Linked DNA regions of Homo sapiens: region 2 is linked to region 1. Evidence: promoter capture Hi-C in human tissues and cell types (Jung and others, 2019). All regions are on one chromosome and are shown on one strand. Each heading gives the region's core, a stretch centred on a gene start or on the middle of the fragment in contact. The rest is flanking DNA. Distances are from core to core; before and after follow the strand shown.

Region 1 (4,498 bases), core at 603-3,102:
CATTTGTAAAAGTGGAGAACATAGGGTAAGAAAGGGATTTTGAGAAGACCTTGAGTTCCTTTCTGGCATGGTGACTGGGAGAACTTTATTGGTAGTGGAGATGGAGATGTGGAGCAGGCTCCAGAAACAAGAGCGTGGAGCAGAGAGAGAGGCCAGGCTGGAGGTGCACTTGTGAGTCACTGTCACAAAGATGGTGTCTGGAGCTCCAAGGCTGGAATAGGTATTGAGGGTGAGAATGGGAAAGGATGAAGGAATGGCCAGGGCTAGGAGGAAGAGGGCTCAGCAAATGTTGGGCTGGCTCTCCTGACCAATGACCCTGCCTCCCCCATCATAGCAGCACTCTGATTTTGGAGGATGGTCCAGATGCAGTTCTGTGAGGGAGGTCTGCTGAGGGAGGAGGGATCCATGGCCATCCAAAGGGCCATGGGAGGAGATGAAAAGTGTGGGGCTGTGGCAGCCATTCTACCACCAAGAGGTGGGTGGAGGAGGGGTTGACAGAGCCACTCATGGAGGTGGCAGCTCATCACTGAGCCTCCAGACTACCCCTGGGAAACCTATGTGGGAGCTCTTGTGACAGAAATTAAATCAGCAGGTTCGGTCACAGTGATGTCCACAGCACTTTCACTGATAGCAGAGTGGGGATGGCAGAGTCTTGCAGAGGGGCTGGCGGCGGGAGGAGCGCAGGAATACGCATTGCCCTGGGGAGGCGGCCAGGTTCTAACCGTCTCACACCTAGTCACTACACTTTACAGATTGGGAAAGCCAAGCCCAGAGGCTGAAGACGCCTATGGAGGTCACACGGCCAGAAATTGACAACGGAGTATGAGCCAGGCCGTCTGTTTCTCTGTGCTATGAGTCCCATACTGTATTTTCAAAGGTCAAGAGGAAAGGGTCTTAAGCTGAAGTGACGGTCCCGCTGCCAGGAGCCGCTTCACTGAGGGTGAAACAATGTAGCCAAGTGCGGGTCACCTGCGCTGTGGCAGAAGGGACCGAGGACGGTGTGGCCAGAGGACTGGCCTGGGCGGAGAGCGAGGAGGGGGAGCCCACAGCTTCTGGGGGGCAGTGACAGTGCGGGGAAGGGCGAGGTGCAGTGTTGGATGTTTTCGCGGGGATTCTGGGACCAGTGGGAAAGCTGGAGGACAGGCGGCTCTGAAGCACCGAGGAGGGGCCTCGGAAGGGGCGGGGAGGTCTCCTTGACACAGGTGAGGAGACGGAGAACTGGGGGCACCCGGCAGCCCAGGCTTCCTGCCGCGCTCTCACGCCCTCCAGGGCCATGAGACCCTGGCTCCGAGGTGGCGGGCAGGTTCGGGACCCGAGCGCGGCGGGATCGTGCGGTTGCCGGTGGTGCTGGGCCCCATGGAGGCTGCGGTCCAGGAGTTTCGGGTGGGCGGCTAGGCCGAGCTTCTGCAGGCGTGCTGAGCCGCCGCAGTAGGGCCCCAGAGGGGACGAGGAATTAGGCCCAGCCGAACGAGGGGGAGCCACCAGAGGCTGGGCCGGGAGGCACCGCCGCGCTCTGGGGAGCTGCCAGGGTCGGGGCGCCCTCCGAGCGGCTGCCAGGCCCCGCGGGCGGCGGCGAGGCGGCCCTCCGCCCCTTCCCCGCAGGTCGCCCTGCCAGCTTGAGCGGCGGGCGCGGGTGGGGCAGGAGGACGCGGGGCGGGGTGGGGGGCACAGGGGGCCCTCTCTGCAGCGCCCCCGGCCCCCGCGCGCGGAGGCAGGGCCGCCGCAGTCGAGGATTAGCGCGTTCGCGGCCGGCGCTGCGGGATTAACCCGCGTGGACTGGACGCCCGGCCCGGGGATTACTGCGCGCTCCCTCCCCGACGTATATATTCCCGCGGCGGCGGCGCCCCGGCCGGGCCGGGCATGGCGGCAGCGGCTGGGGGCGCGGCGAGCCGCCGGGGTGCCGGGCGGCCCTGCCCCTTCTCCATCGAGCACATCCTCTCCAGCCTGCCCGAGCGGAGCCTCCCGGCCCGGGCCGCCTGCCCACCGCAGCCCGCCGGTCGCCAGAGCCCCGCGAAGCCAGAGGAGCCCGGGGCGCCCGAGGCTGCGCCCTGCGCCTGCTGCTGCTGCTGCGGCCCCCGCGCGGCGCCCTGCGGGCCCCCAGAGGCGGCCGCCGGGCTGGGTGAGTGGGCGCGGAGCGGGGCGCGGGGCCCGGCGGAGCCCGGGGCGCGGCGCAGTGGGTGCCGAGCTTGGCCCCAGCCCCGCGCCTCACCGCGCCCTCGCTCCGCAGGCGCTCGTCTGGCGTGGCCGCTGAGGCTGGGACCGGCGGTGCCCTTGTCTCTGGGTGCGCCAGCCGGAGGTTCCGGGGCGCTCCCGGGCGCGGTCGGCCCGGGTTCGCAGCGGCGCACGAGGCGCCACCGCACCATCTTCAGCGAAGAGCAGCTGCAGGCGCTCGAGGCGCTTTTCGTGCAGAACCAGTATCCTGACGTGAGTACGCGCGAGCGCCTGGCCGGCCGCATCCGCCTTCGCGAGGAGCGCGTGGAGGTGAGTGCCCCGCCCAGCCTTTCCCCGGAGCGCGCGGGCCGCGGCTACACTGGACTGGGGTCCTGGCGGGCGGGCGCCCTTTGCAAAGACGGCCTCGGCCCAAGCCCCGCCCTGGCGCGCCGGAGGGAGGAGGTCCCTGGACGGCGCTGGGCGTCCGGGGGTATGAGGAGCGGGTGAGAGCAGGGAGGTGCCGCGGGAAAGGAACCGGAGGGCTACTTTTCTTTTCTTTTGTTTTACACTTTCCTCTGGTGACGAAAGAGGCCCGCGTTCACGTCCAGAATTTGGGAAATTCAGAAGAGCCCGCAACCCAAGAAGGGGCGTCCTGGTCGCCGCCAGCTGGAGGCTGGGGCGGGTACTAAGGGGGTTCCCATCTCGCGTCCAGACCCACCGAGTCTGTCCGCAGCGAATAAGGGCAGGTGGCGCGCAGCCGCGGCCCGGGTGTCGGCTCTACAGCGCCGTCCGCCCACATCCCTGTTGCGAAGCTCCCCTCTCGGTCCCTGTGGGACCCTCGGGAGCCGGTGGGACGCAGGACCTGGGGCTAGGGCTGAGCATTCCCCCCATCCCCAGGTCTGGTTCAAGAACCGCCGGGCCAAATGGCGACACCAGAAGCGCGCGTCGGCTTCCGCGAGGCTCCTGCCCGGCGTCAAGAAGTCCCCGAAGGGGAGCTGCTGATGACTCTAGGAGCTGCCCCTGGGCTCGGCCACCCTTTTTGGGATCTTTGGAGTTGGCGCTGAGAGAAGACAGGTCTACCCGAAAAGGAGCTGGGAGAGTACACCGGCCGCCTCCACCCGTCTCCACAGCCCTTGCCTCCTGCAGCTCGTGCTGCCGTGGCGCTGGGGACGGGCCCCCGGTGCTTGGTGTTCCACGGCAGTGGGAGTGGCGAGTCCCTTGGGGGTGGGCTGGGGCATAGAGCAGTTTCCTCAGCTCCCTACCCCCCGAGAGACACTAACTCCACCGCAGGAGGGGAACCACCCCGTATCAACACGGGACCCAGAATCCTACGCAGTGGAGCGTCTCTCCGCACCCTGGGACATGCTGGCCACCCTCTTCTCAATGTGGACATTGACCTAACTTGACCTGGCTCGTCCTCCCCCAGCGGGAGAGGGGATGGGGTTCGTGTCTGTGCAGTCCTGGCGTTGCAGGCTTCCCAGGCCCTGGGCTGGGTCTTGGTATCTGGACCTGTAGAATAAGAAGGTCGCAGGAGCGATTCCAGGAGCCCCTCCACAGTCCCTTCACCTTCGAGCCTCGCGCTGATACTGAGAAACTAGCAACTTCAAATACCACAGAAGCCGCCCAGAGTCTCAAGTCCACCTTGGCTCCACTCCCACACCCAACAAGGAGCTGTCCCTTCTTCTTCCTTCCCAGCGAGGGGGTATTTAGGGTACAGCTGTCTTTGAGAGGAGCACAGCTCAGCGATCCTCAGTCTCTGCACCAGGGTGCTCCCCAGCAGAGGGGACTGCTCCACGGATGGTGGCCTTGGACCCCTGGGGTCCAGCCCTGGCCTCTAGGCTACTGTGAACCTGCCCATGGGTGAGGGTCCCCTGCTTCCTCCTGGGGTTTTCATGCTGTGGGCTCGGACTCCCTCACAGCAATCTGTGCCATCCTAGGGTAGGGCAAGAGGAGGTTGGACTGGGGAGACCCCGCCCCTGCTGCCTGGGAAGATGCCTGCCCTCCCCTTCTTTATCCTGGCCCATGGCAAAAGGCACAGTGGAAAGAAGCCTTAGATTCCCCAAGTAGGCCCTACAGTGGGTCCAAAGCATCTCACATCCCCACCCCCAGCTGGCTTGAGCACCTCGTTCTGTCTCCTTACAGGCCCTGCAGGGAATGGGGCCATTCTACCTGCAAGAGATGAAGTCCATCTCTAAAAGCAGGACTGCAGAAGCCAGGGCTGCAGCTCCCCAGACACCCCAAGGCTGGCCAGCTTGGATAACACCAAGCAAGCATGGTGTCCCCAGTCAGAACTGCCCTGACACTGCTGGGTGTCCCTAGCATCCCCGCCTCCACCCCTAGCATGCAC
Region 2 (3,942 bases), core at 366-2,865, 430 kb before region 1:
ACTGTGAACAGAAGCCACAGCATGGTGTGGAGCAGAGGAGCAACATAATCTAGAGAGGTGGTTTTTTGTTTTTGGTTTTGGTTTTTTTTTTTTTTTAAGAGACAGGGTCTCATCTGTCACACAGATTGGAGTGCAGTGGTGCAATCATGGCTCACTGCAGCCTCGAACTCCTGGGCTCAAGCAATCCCCTCCTGCTTCAGCATTCCCAGCAGCTGGGACCCCAGGCACGCACCACCACACCCGGATATTTTTTAAATTTTTTGTAGAGACCGAGTCTTACTATGTTGCCTAGGCTGGTCCCAAACCGCTGGCCTCAAGCCATCCTCCTGCCTCAGCCTCCTGGCTACACAGAGTCAGTCACTTCTTATCTTGCACACAACTGGAGAGAAAATCCTTGACTGAAAGATGCCTGGCTTTGCTCTGTCACTCACAGCGCTTCCCTTGCACAGCACCTGATAGGACGAGTGCCAGGATCAGGGTTCTTGTGACATTGTGAGGCCAATTATGAAATCTAAGGAGACTAGGGACTTCCAGTTTCATTAACTTGATTCTTCTGTTAGGAAGAAAGTACCTAGATTAAAATAATTCACCCTAAGATGTGAATGAATGAAAATGAATGTCAAAACCCTCTAGAGAACTTTAACAAGGCATCAATTCACGGAAAGCCTAACTGGTAAAATTAGTAGAATATATCTCAGACTGTCTACAACATCAAAGGAGAAGCGTGTCTATATTGAGGGAATGGGTTCAGGAGAGACACCAACAGGGGAGCTCATGTTCCGTGTCTCTCTAGATTACAGGATCCAGAGGTTCTATGAGTGGCCATCCCTGATCACCCCCAGTTCCCAACTGACCCAGACCACGGCCTCCCAATCCCTGCATCGGCCCTTTAAGCTCCCAGGGTGGCTGTGACTCCTTGGGTATCAGCTTGCTCGGCGTCCTGCCTCTGATGCCCTCCGGATGCATCCCTGGGGACTGCGGCTCATGGGCCCCACGGAGGCAGGAGGAACTGACCTCGCCAAACCCTAGCCAGGCTGTCACCTGGCCCAGACCGCCTTGGTCTGGATGTCTGCCGCAGCCTGGGCTCTGCTCACCACTCTAAACACAAGTGGCCACATACCATCTGATTCCACTTACATGAAATGTCCAGAAAGGGCAAATCCATAGGGACAGAAAGTAGACTGGTGGTTGTGAGAGGCTGGGAGAGGCTGAGAGAGGAGGTAGGTGAGGGGGAAATGGGAGTGACTGATTCATGAGTACTGGGCTTCTTTTGGGGCCATGCAAATATTCTAAACTGGATGGTGATGGTTACACAACTCTGTGAACAGACTAAAAATGATGGAAAACTCTACTAAGAACTCTTCTTCCGAGGGGTGAATTGTAGGGTATGTGAATCATATCTCAGTAAAGCTGCTGCAAAGCAAGCAGAGAGAGAGGAGGGAAGTAGGAGAGGCTGGCGGCCCCAGGAGTAGGGCTCAGGAACCAGCTACGGAGGCTGGGAGGCGGGGCCAGAGCCAGTCGGAGGCACAACCAACTGCAGGCAGCTTGGACAACCCTGAGGGCGCTTCCAGCTGAACTGTGGAGTGTTTGGCAGAAGCAAGAGCAGGGGGCCAAGCTTCTGGTGATGGCCTGGGCCCTAGACACCCCCTCCCCTAACAAAACCCAGAAAGGAGTGACTGGGAGAGAAGGCATAGTCAGGAGCATCACTCCCACGCCTGGCCTCCCCACCACCAAGCCTGCCTGGCCTCCCCAGCACCAAGCCCACAGGCACGGCACACTAGCAACCGCCCAGAATGACTCACACCTTCCTGTGACATTGTCTAATATGAACTGCCCAGGGTCTTGAAGCACCGAGCACTGGGAGATCCCCGTGTCCCCAGGAACTGTACTCTGCATTTTCAAATAGAACATTTTCATGATATGTTGATGGCCACTCTTTTCCCTGACTGGCCATCTGAGAAACTGAACAGAGGTGAGGTTACGGCACCCCCCAAAGGTGACCAGAGAAGCTCATCACTGACAGCCCAGGGGAGCCCTTTTGGGCCCGACACAGAGTGTCACCCTCTGAAGCTGTCACAGAATCAGAGACTAGGGCTCTGTCACCTCACACCTCGGGAACACTGCAGGGGTGCTCTGCAGCAGCATGTTTCTCTCTCTCTCTCTTTTTTTTTTTTTTTTTGAGACAGAATCTCACTCTTGTCCAGGCTGGAGTGCAGTGACATGATCTTGACTCACTGCAACCTCCACCTCTTGCGTTCAAGCAATTCTCCTGCCTCAGCCTACCGAGTTAACTGGGATTACAGGCACCACGCCCAGCTGTTTTGTATTTTTGGTAGGGACGGGGTTTCCCCATGTTTGCCAGGGTGGTCTCAAACTCCCGACTTCAAGTGATCCGCCCGCCTTGGCCTCCCAAAGTGTTGGGACTACAGGCATGAGCCACCATGCCTGGCCTGCAGCATGTCTCTTTTTTTTTTTTTTTGAGACGGAGTCTCTCTCTGTCACCCAGGCTGGAGTGCAGTGGCGCAGTCTCGGCTCACTGCAACCTCCATCTCCCAGGTTCACACCATTCTCCTGCCTCAGCCTCCCGAGCTGGGACTACAGGCGCCTGCCACCATGCCCGGCCAATTTTTTGTATTTTTAGTAGAGATGGGGTTTCACCATGCTAGGCAGGATGGTCTCGATCTCCTGACCTCGTGATCCACCCATCTCGGCCTCCCAGAGTGCTGGGATTACAGGCGTGAGCCACTGCGCCCGGCCCAGCATGTCTCTTAAACGCAGGGGCCACGAGCAGAGCTGTCAGAATGCTTCAGAGGAAAACAAGTGGGGCCCGGTGACAACTCACACAAGACACTGGGGGTGACACGGAAGAAGGGGACCCTCCAGGGCTGCTTTTAAGTTGGGGGCATTCTTAGAATTAAGAAGCTGTCAATCAACTGCCAGATCCTGCAAAGAACTGTTTCAACTCCATTAAGGAAAAATAAAGGAAACCCAAAAGAAAAACAGACAGAGGATACAATGTTCTCATGAAGATTGCCTGTAACCAATAAACATTTTAAAAGATGCTTAAAGTTGCAAGTCATGGATAGAATGTAAATTAAGGCATCAATAAGACAACCTTTTTCACCCAACAGATTAGGTTAAATCTAGTGCTGGAGAAAGTGTGGGGAAACAGGCATTCTCAGGCCACGGAGCAACATCTGTTAAAACTCTAAAAGGTTGGGCAGGCGTGGTGGCTCATGCCTGTAATCCCAACATTTTGGGAGGCCAAGGCGGGTGGGTCACTACAGGTCAGGAGGAGTTCAAGACCAGCCTGACCAACATGGTGAAACCCTGTCTCTACTAAAACTACAAAATCACCTGGGCTTGTTGGCGCATGCCTGTAATCCCAGCTACTTGGGAGGCTGAGGCAGGAGAATTGTTTGAACTCGGGAGGCGGAGGTTGCAGTGAGCTGAGATCGCGCCACTGCACTCCAGCTTGGGTGACACAGCAAGACTCCATCTCAAAAAACAAACAAACAAACAAACAAACAAAAACCTCTAAAAGGTACATGCCCTTTAGCCTAGCAATTCCACTTGGAGGAGCCCAGCCTGCAAAACTACTCACAAATGCACACAAGTGAATACACACACTCAAGAATGTTCACTGTAGGGCTATATTTTAACAGAAGAAAACTTACAGGCACCTAAATGTTCTTCCACAGAGGAATAATTATAAATAATGATTCATCCATATAATAAAATACTATATAGGTATAGAAGAAAACGTTTAAGGACTATGTTAACAATGATGTTATCTCTGGAGAATGGGATTTTAGGAGAGGACTCCCATTATACCTTTGCATGACATTTATAATCAGAAAACAAACCTTCAAAAAAATGAGTTGCTGGGATGATGGTATGATCCCATTTACATAAAACGGAAAATAATATATATGCATATGT

What was found. The method cuts DNA at HindIII sites, captures the fragments that hold promoters and counts their contacts. A contact is called where the count stands out against the background at its distance.
Region 2: a contact is called between a fragment that was not itself captured here and the fragment with the promoter of GSC2 in region 1, in 1 of the 25 tissues and cell types used here (lymphoblastoid cells).

Annotation. Positions count from the first base shown.
Region 1 is chr22:19,147,646-19,152,143 of GRCh38, reverse strand. It overlaps GSC2 (goosecoid homeobox 2), which reads left to right and starts at 1,852. Exons shown (of 3, transcript NM_005315.2): 1 at 1,852-2,119; 2 at 2,228-2,481; 3 at 3,049-4,498. The coding sequence starts at 1,861. The coding sequence ends at 3,153. RefSeq lists an enhancer at 2,401-2,900. The HindIII fragment of the contact is 19,488 bases long and covers 1-4,498 here.
Region 2 is chr22:19,574,811-19,578,752 of GRCh38, reverse strand. No RefSeq gene overlaps it. Among named protein-coding and RNA genes, the nearest start is that of LINC00895, 9.9 kb to the right of the region's middle. The HindIII fragment of the contact is 6,571 bases long and covers 1-3,942 here.